2 separate regions of the Homo sapiens genome follow, and region 2 is linked to region 1. The links are contacts of gene promoters, found by promoter capture Hi-C in blood cells and fetal thymus (Javierre and others, 2016). All regions are on one chromosome and are shown on one strand. Each heading gives the region's core, a stretch centred on a gene start or on the middle of the fragment in contact. The rest is flanking DNA. Distances are from core to core; before and after follow the strand shown. Region 1 holds the start of FHAD1-AS1 (FHAD1 antisense RNA 1). Region 2 overlaps FHAD1 (forkhead associated phosphopeptide binding domain 1).

Evidence for each region. Contacts are between HindIII fragments. The CHiCAGO score rates a contact against its expected background, and 5 or more counts as called.
Region 2: a fragment that was not itself captured here is called in contact with the fragment with the promoter of FHAD1-AS1 in region 1 in 5 of 17 cell types (M1 macrophages, endothelial precursors, M0 macrophages and 2 more); the score reaches 5.7 in M1 macrophages.

The regions. Positions count from the first base shown.
Region 1 is chr1:15,342,245-15,346,776 of GRCh38, reverse strand. FHAD1-AS1 (FHAD1 antisense RNA 1) reads left to right here and starts at 2,894. Exons shown (of 2, transcript NR_148919.1): 1 at 2,894-3,001. It overlaps FHAD1 (forkhead associated phosphopeptide binding domain 1), which reads right to left. Exons shown (of 34, transcript NM_001391957.1): 17 at 1,587-1,694; 18 at 1,254-1,361. RefSeq lists an enhancer at 785-984. The HindIII fragment of the contact is 5,872 bases long and covers 1-4,532 here.
Region 2 is chr1:15,393,391-15,398,050 of GRCh38, reverse strand. It overlaps FHAD1 (forkhead associated phosphopeptide binding domain 1), which reads right to left. Exons shown (of 34, transcript NM_001391957.1): 34 at 1-754. The coding sequence ends at 638. Among named protein-coding and RNA genes, the nearest start is that of EFHD2, 14 kb to the left of the region's middle. RefSeq lists a silencer at 817-984. The HindIII fragment of the contact is 881 bases long and covers 2,338-3,218 here.

The DNA of each region.
Region 1 (4,532 bases), core at 1,645-4,144:
CTCATCTGGCTGCAAAGCCCGCACTCCTCTGTGCTGTGTCAGGATTGAGGAATTCATGAAAGCAGATGTGAAAAAGGATCAGGGATCTGAGGGTGACCACAAGCTAAACATGAATCCACAAATGTGACAGAGCTTTCCCAAAAGCTAGTTTGGATGCATTAACAGAAGTAGAATATCTTCAATGCGGGAGGGAGGAGTCCTCCCCTAGGCTACCGTGGCTGGAGAACAGTGGTTCTGGCCACCTCCCTTTAGGAAGAAAATGGGTGATGGGTGACAAACTCAATGCCTATGAAGCCCGGACAGATACCAAAAATGACGTGGGCTGTGTTTAATGCAACGGGGAGTGGTGAGGACTCTGGCAAACTGCTGCTACCCGGTAAGGCTTCTAGTCCATTTTTGCTAAGTAGAAACAAGGGCTAGATTTTCTGACTTTTCGGGAGAGGCTGGAAATCTGAACTTTTAAATAGATTTTATGAATTCAAAGTAAAATATTCCGGGGCCAAATATAACTTCCACAGGCCCTTTTTAGTCGCTGAGCTACCAGTCTGTGACTTCTGGAGAGCAGCACAGGCCACAGGAGGCAGCCAGGGCCAGGCTCTAGTCCTGTGAGGGACCTGAGGAACAAGGGCGCTTGGGCCCGGGGAGGAGCAGACACAGGGTGCGGGCGCCCCTGTTTTCACACATCTGAGTCATCATGTGGAAGAGGAAGTAGATGTATCTTGTGGGAGCGCAGGGGAGGGCGGAGGACTGATACTCCTCCGGGGCGTAAGAGTTTGACACAACTCAACCTAAAGGGAAAACTTTCTGTCGGCCTGAGGCATCCATGCTGGGACGGACTGTCCTGGGGTGGAGAACATTCCTTAGTGGTGGTGCTGAAGGCTGGAGGCTTTTAGGATGCTGGTGGAGGGTCCACGCAGCCCTGAGGTCCCATGACTCTGTCATTCTCCCGTTTCTGTGCTTTGGAACACAGAAGACGCCCATGTCACCATTCCTACTTGTCTCCCAAGCGCTCTCTCTCTCTGACTGTGTTTTACACTGTTTACAATTTTTTCCCAACTGGTTGTCAAGGCTACAACTCCAGGGTTCCCTCCTTGAGTCTCCCACGCTTCCCAAAGTAGCTGAGCCCACCCAAACGCAAACTCCACGAGGAAGGCTCCACCACGATCTCACCCCCATCATCGCCGCTCTGAACTTCCTTCCACATGGCCCTCAAGCCGACTGGGGCTCAGCCGACTCTATCTCCCCGAGCGTACCTCCTTCTGGCGGGCCAAGCGTTCCTCCAGCTCTTGGACTCTTGTCTGCTCTTCCTCTAATGCTTCCTTCACTCTGTTCTTCTCCTGGGTAATGCTTTTCGCCAAAGCCTGAGTCAACGATCATTGTTCAATAGACATGGTTACCATGGGAGGAAACTGGACTCTGCCAGGCACCGCACAGGTTTCCTCTTCCCTCCAGACTACACCTCCCTAGGGGACTGTGGACAGCACAGCCCTGGAGCTCAGAGCCGGCGGGCCCAGACCAGAGCCCCAGATCCACCCTTCCTAGCTGCAGTGGGGCTCGAGCTGACTCTGTCTCCCTGAGCCACATACCTTCTTCTGCTGGGCCAGGAGGCTCTCCAGTTCTTGCATTCTCTTCCGTTCTTCCTCTAAAGTCTCTTTCGCTCTGTTTCTCTCTTGAGTAATGTACTCCTCCAAAGCCTGGAAACCAATGACCATTGTTTAACAGACATGGTTACCATGGCAGGAATTTGGACGCTGCCAGGCACTGCATGTGCTACCTCTTCACTCCTCACCGCACTCCCCTGGGGAGGCTGTGGGCAGCAGAGCCTAGGAGCTCAGAGCATGTGCTCTGGAGTCAGGAGACCCAGGGTAGAGCCCCAGGTTGATCCTTTCCAGCTGTAAGGCACTGGGGAAGTGAAGCTACCAGAGCCTCAGTTTCCCTGCCTGTACAACGGAGACAGTAATAGTCTTCCTGTGTTGGGTTGATGTGAGGGGTGGATGCGACGATGAACACGAAATGCTTGGCACAGTGATAACCATGCTTCCCACCTTGCAGAGGAGGAAACAGGCTTACATTCAAGAATCCACCCAGTTTACTAGTAAATCACAAGAGGAGGGATTCTAACTCTGACCCATTTGATTCTGAAGCCTGTGTTCTAAACCAGAGGTTAGCAAACTATGGCTTACAGACCAAATCTGGTCTGTTTTTGTAAATAAAGTTTTATTGGAACACTGTGCTTGCTGTGTATTGTCTATGGCTGCTTTTGCAGAAGAGCAGAGAGCATATGACCTGCAAAACTGAAAATATTTACTATCTGGCTCTTTATGGGACAATTTGGCCAATCCCTGATCTAACCCATTGGTGTGTGCACAAACCAAGGGATTGTTGTCAACAACTGGCAATAAGAAAAGAATGTTAGATTGATAAAGGAACATAGAATTTTTTTTCCCTTTGAAACAAAGTCCTCAAACAAGTCAAGATTCATGAGATTAATGACCCTGGACACATGTATTTTCGGAAAGGGCAGGTGATGGGAGTCAGAAGGTCTAAGGAAGGCTCATTTAGTCAGGACACTTGGCACTGAAGTCCAAGAGGTAACTTTCCAAGGAGTCCCCAGGGTCAAGTCCATCAATCCGAGTATCAGAGGAAGGGCGACCTTCGAGTGTCACAGTCTGTCTGGCAGGGACCTGATGTTGCTTCCTCCCTCTGCAAGGAGGGTAGGGTGCACCGAGGTTTTCAGGTTTAAAAGAGGGGCTGACGCCAGCTCTTAAAACACTCTGCCAGGCCAGTGTCGCCAGGGTTGTCTAGGAAGACTAGGCAGGCGCCCAACGCAGTGTTTAACATGGTGGGGCTGAAATACCAAACCCTGACAAGGGAAAAAGTCCATCCAAAATTAAAAAGAGAAAATAAGGCATTTGGGATGCCGATGTTAAAAGGAGAAGGTAATCAGAGAAGAAAAAAGGAAGTCGGTGGAGAGTTCTGCGAAGATTTTGAAGATTTCTAGGTACTTTCTGGTTTTATTTTCTTCTCTATGGAACGGTGCTGGCTTTTTCCGTATCTAAATGCCCTTCAAAATGTGCCCATCTTGATTTATAGCTATCATTAATATTACCTTTATGCGGATTGCACATGATTTGGTCAGATGGCTCTTCTTTTTTAATCTTTTATTTCGCAAATGCAGAAAAGCAGAGAAAGAGGCAAAGAGAAGAAGGAGGAGGAGACTGATGTTTTGGGGTAACTGGACACACATGTGAGGATGGAGATGAAAGAGGGAGAGGTCTGGAGGGCAGGTGTGTGTGGTAGAGAAGGAGCTGGGGAAAGATGGAGAAGGGGGCAGGTCCAGTACTCTTCCGGGGAAGAGAGGAGATATCTGGGAAGAGTTGGGGTCCGGTGGATCTGGGGGGCTGCTGTCTTGAGGGGGCTGTGAGGAGGGGCAGCATGCACACGCTGCTCCACACCCACCCACAACAGTGGCTCGCAACCGTGGCTGCACTTTGCGACCACCCGGGAGTGCTTAGAAATCCCACAGCAGGGGCCACACCCTCACCCCACTAAGATCAGAATGTGGAGAGTCGGCGGGGAGAGGTGCAAGGCATTAGTAATTTTTAATCTCCTAAATGACAAAAGTCATAAAGACAGTGAAATTCATGGGAGGGGTCCCTGAATATCAAAAAGGGCCAACCCTCAGGTATGGTGGCTCATACCTGTAATCCCAGAACTTTTGGAGGCTGAGGTGGGAGGATCACTTGATGCCAGGAGTCTGAGACCAGCCTGGGCAACATAGAGAGAGACCTCATTTCTACAAAAAATAAAAATATTAGCTGGGTGTGGTGGTGTGTGCCTGTGGTCCCAGCTACTTGAGAGACTGAGGTGGGAGGGTCACTTGAGCCCAGGAGTTCAAGACCAGCCTGGGCAACATTGCAAGATCCCATCTCTACAAAAAAAAATAATAATTAGCTGGGTGTAGTGCCATATGCCTGTGGTCCCAGCTACTTGGGAGGCTGAGGTGGGAGGACCACTGCAGCCTGGGAGTTCGAGGCTGTGGTGAGCTATGGTCACACTATTGCACTCCAGCCTGGGCAACAGAGCAAGACCCCATCTTAAGAAAAAAAAGGGCCAACTCTAGGACAGTGATGAGAATCAGCTCATTAAATAATACAGTTTCCTGGCCCTCTCCAGATGTTCTGATTTAATGGGTCTGGAGGGTGGAGACCAAGATCTGCATTTTTAGCAAAGCATCTGGATGGTTCTTATCAGGAAACTTTGGGAAAACCTTCCTCTAAGCCTTCGCCCTAAGAAAATGTGGATCTGCAGACTGGTAGCGTCAGTACCATCTGGGAGCTTGTTGAAAATGTAGCGTCTCAGGCCTGCTGAGACAGAATCTGCATCTTAACCAGATCCCCAGACAATTCATGGGCACGTTCGAGTTTTAGAGATGCTGCTATCTTCTAACTGGCTTGATTTCTAGAAAAGTCAGTAGCAATTTTGACCATTTGTTTCCCCCGATATGTATAAAGAGAAAGCAAAAGACTGAA
Region 2 (4,660 bases), core at 1,529-4,028, 51 kb before region 1:
CAAGTGATTCTCCCACCTCAGCCTCCTGTGTAGCTGGGACTACAGGCATGTGCCACCACACCTGGCTAATTTTTGTATTTTTAGTAGAGACAGGTATTCACTATGTTTGCCAGGCTGGTCTCAAACTCCTGATCTTATAATCCGCCTGCCTCGGCCTCCCAAAGTGCTGAGATTACAGGCATGAGCCATCCTGCCAGGCCATAACGGAGACTTGAATTCACTATCCCAAGGCCCTGAGAGCTCCAAGGTTACAATTCTGCCCTGAGGCTCCAGTACAAGTCTTAGGTTTTCTCAAGTGTGAGTCTGTTGGAAGTCTTAGGAGGTTTGATATTTGGGAACATCATGACCCAACGTGGACCACATAATTATATCTACCAGGCCTGGACATCTGGGTTACACACTTCTATTCTTCATATACCTGAGTTCGTGTACATTCATAGGTATTTTTAAAGAAGAACCCTTCTCCCCACAGTCTCCAAAATATAATATTGTTCAAAATACTGGTCTAGGAAATGAAACACTAGGGTAACAATCTTTAAAGACTTACAAAAGCAACTCAGTATTTTGACACAGATGACACAGAAGAGTCACATGAACTCACAGAGGATCACATGAGGCCTGGTGGGACGAGGTTTCTCTAGTACTTTCCACTGGGCTTAGAATGCAAAAGGCTCTGGCTGGACTTGCTGGAGGTCTCTTTCCTCAGCATCTCTCTTTCTTGGTCCATCTTTAGGGAGGCTTTTCTGGTTCCAACCTTTAACAAGCAAGAGAAAAAACACACAAACTCCATTGCAGCAAGACTCCAATTGTTCCACTCAAGTGGTTTTGTTATTTTTTATTTTATTTAATTTTTTTTTTTTGAGACGGAGTCTCGCTCTATCGCCCAGGCTGGAGTGCAGTGGTGTGATCTCGGCTCACTGCAAGCTCCGCCTCCTGGGTTCATGCCATTCTCCTGCCTCAGCCTCCCGAGTAGCTGGGACTACAGGCGCCCGCCACCACGCCCAGCTAATTTTTTTTTTTTTTTTTTTTTAGTAGAGACGGGGTTTCACCGTGTTAGCCAGGATGGTCTTGATCTCCTGACCTCGTGATCCGCCCGTCTTGGCCTCCCAAAGTGCTGAGATTACAGGCTTGAGCCACCGCACCCAGCCTTATTTAATTATTTTTAACATGAGGAGAACTAGACACTTCCCATGTATTTTATTGTATTGTACTTATTTATTTACTTATTATTATTATTTTTTGAGACAGAGTCTTGTTCTGTGGCCCAGGCTGGAGTGCAGTGGCATGATCTCTGCTCACTGCAACCTCGACCTCACGGATTCAAGTGATTCTCCTGCCTCAGCCTCCCAAGCAGCTGGGACTACAGGCACATGCCGCCACACCCGGCTAATTTTTGTATTTTTAGTAGAGATGGGGGTTTCACCATGTTGGTCAAGTTGGTCTGGAACTCCTGACCTCAAGTGATCTGCCTGCCTTGGCCTCCCACGGTGCTAGGATTACAGGCATAAGCCACCACACCCGGCTGGTTTTGTTATTTTTTTGTACACAAAATAAAATATTTGTTGTAAAAAATATATATATACACACACAGATATGAGCACAAAAGAGATAAAATGATTCATCATTATCACGTTACTCAAAGATGAGCTTTAGTGAGGTTTTGGGGTGCACCCTTCCAGGTATACAGATATTGCTTTCCTTTTCTCTATTTTTTCTTTTTTTTTTTCTTGATATGGGGTCTCACTCTGTTGCCCAGGCTGGAGTGCTGTGGAGCAATCCCCGCTCACTGCAGCCTCGACCTCCTCAGGCTCAGGTGATCCTCCAACCTCAGCCTCCCGAGTAAGCTGGGACTATAGGTGTGCACCACTATGCCCAACTAATTATTTTATTTTATTTTACTTTTTGTAGAGATGAGGTTTTGCCATGTTGCCCAGGCTGGTCTCGAGTTCCTGGGCTCAAGTGATCTGCTCTCCTTGGCCTCCCAAAGTGCTGGGATTACAGGTGTGAGCCACCAAGCCTGGTCCCTTTACATATTTTTTAGTTTGAAACCAGGAGGTTCTTACAGTAACACATTCATTGTGATGGTGTTTCTCCTGAAAGGCTGTTACTGACTTGAATGTGTCTAAAGTCTCTGATGGCTTAGAACTGGGTGTCCAAACTTTTGGCTTCCCTGGGCCACACTGGAAGAAGAATAGTCTTGGGCCACACGTAAAATACATTAACACTAATGGTAGCTGATGAGCTAAAAAAAAAATTATCCCATAATGTTTTAAGAAAGTTTACGAATTTGTGTTGGGCTGCATTTAAAGCTGTCCTGGGCTGCGGGTTGGACAAGCTTGGCTTAGAAGGAGAAAGTGAAGTATATTTAAGGGGGTCTGTTTAACCCCTTGAGCACTTCCCAGCTCAAAGGAGGGGGCGTCCTGGCAGCCGTGTGCATGACCCCACTCCCGGGCCATATTTGTTGGACACTTGGCACAGCTGGGCTTTTCCGATGCCCACTCCTAGGAGTCGGGGTAATGGGCTGTGAGATGCCACTCGCTCCCTGGGCTGGCCCTTTGAACTGGGGGACTGTGAGGCTGTCCCTTCTTGTCATACCACTGGAGAGAGAAGAAATCAGCAGAGGTATGGAGAGGGGCAGAAATGACATGGAGACGTGTGTGTGCCCGAGTGCATGCATGCACGAGAGAGACGATGCCTGGGCTATCCTCCTAGTTCTCTCCCGTAGCTTTTTTTTTTTTTTTTTGAGATGGAGTCTTGCTCTGTCGCCCAGGCTGGACTGCAGTGGCGTGATCTCTGCTCACCTCCGCCTCCCGGGTTCACGCCATTCTCCTGCCTCAGCCTCCCGAGTACCTGGGACAACAGGTGCCCGCCAGCATGCCCGGCTAATTTTTTTGTATTTTTTGTAGAGATGGGGTTTCACCATGTTAGCCAGGATGGTCTCAAACTCCTGACCTCATGATCCGCCCATCTCGGCCTCCCAAAGTGCTGGGATTACAGGCGTGAGCCACCGCACCCAGCCTTTCCCATAGGTTTTATGAGGCATTCATTTCTGTATCTTTATAAAAGCCCCCCGCCCTGCCCCTTTTCTGAGTAGATTTTTGTTAACTGCAACCCAAGATCTCTCTCGCAAACAATTCTGGACACACTGTGGATAATACTGTGGCTTGCAAGTTTCTTTCCAACAGGATTTACCTTGCCAACTCTGTTCCTGCAAAGCTTTGCCCCCAGCCTTCAGGCTGCACATACACCTGGGGCAAGAGGGCTGGGTGGCTAGTCGCGTTTCAGCTCTGCCACTCACTACATGACCCTCAGTTTCCTCATCTGCCAAATAGGGATGAATATCGATCCTGCCTTCCTCAGAGGGCACAGAGGAGATTCTGGGAAGATTTCAATGGAAGAGTCTGTTAGGACCATCACTTAAGCTCTTTTCACCTTAAGATGGATTTAAAAATCACCTCCTGAGGCCTGTGACAGTGGCTGACAGGAGCCTCAAACGTGTTTTGAGACTCTGCATTCAAGATTGTTTCAGGGCAAGAAAGGGTAAGTCAGTCCCATACCAGCCCACAAAGTAAATATTGGTCCAAATGCGCAGGGAAAAAGAAAACAGACAGCAAACTCAAAAGCCTTCCCCCCTAAACAACCCTTACTTTATATTCCTTTTCATTTGATTTTCAATAAAATTGCTGACTGTGGATGGTTTCCAAATGCCAGTGCCCTGAGCCGGTGTGGAGTTGGCTGTCAGAGTTGGAGCCAGGGAGTTTGTTAAAGAGTCCCAGGTCCCCAGGTCTCCAGCCCCAGGGCTGCCAGAAGCATGGGATGGGAAGCACCACGGAAGGGGCTTTGTTCTCTTTATGAAATGACAAAGGATGGGGCAGCAGAAGGCAGCCAGGACCGCTGACCTGGGAATGGGGAATGTGAAATGCACAGATTCCACTTGAGATATTTGGAACCACGTGCCTCACCCTTAGAATGAAAAGGCAGGGGTAGAAGCCGGTCATTTAAATAGCCACACCCAGGTGTGAATGAACTCAGGCCATCCTGGGGTGTCTGCTTCAGGAAACTGCAAGCCTCGGCTCTAGGAAGCCCCCTGCCCACTCCCACACAACCTCAGGTCTAAGTTTAAATATACGGTCCTCAGGAAGGCCTCTCCTGGAGCTTGGACTGGGAGTGAAGACGTCCCTGTGAAATATGCTCAGCTCAGTTCAGGGGCCTTTGTCCTCCAAACACTGGGCTCAAAGTTATTATTTAATCATTATGTGTATTTACTTAAAAAAAAAAAAAGAGGCCAGGGGCAGTGGCTCATGTCTAAAATCCCAGCACTTTGGGAGGCTGAGGTGGGAGGATCACTTGAGCCTGGGAAGTGGAGGTTGCAGTGAACTGAGATGGTGCCACTGCACTACAGCCTGGACCACAGAGCAAGACACGGTCTCCAAAAAAAAAAAAGCCCAAGACTGTAAGCCAGGCAGGCAGGCAGGGATCTTTATGTCTTCATTAGTCTAACTCTGTGTTTCTCAGCCTTTCTTTCACTATCAACCTCGCCCCCTGAGAATTCTTAGAGGTTTTTTCCCCAGCCCCTCACCCTTTTACAGATAGCAGTGTGTGTGTGTGTGTGTGTGTGTGCGTGTGTGTGTGTGTCCACATCTATGTAGATATGGCTATT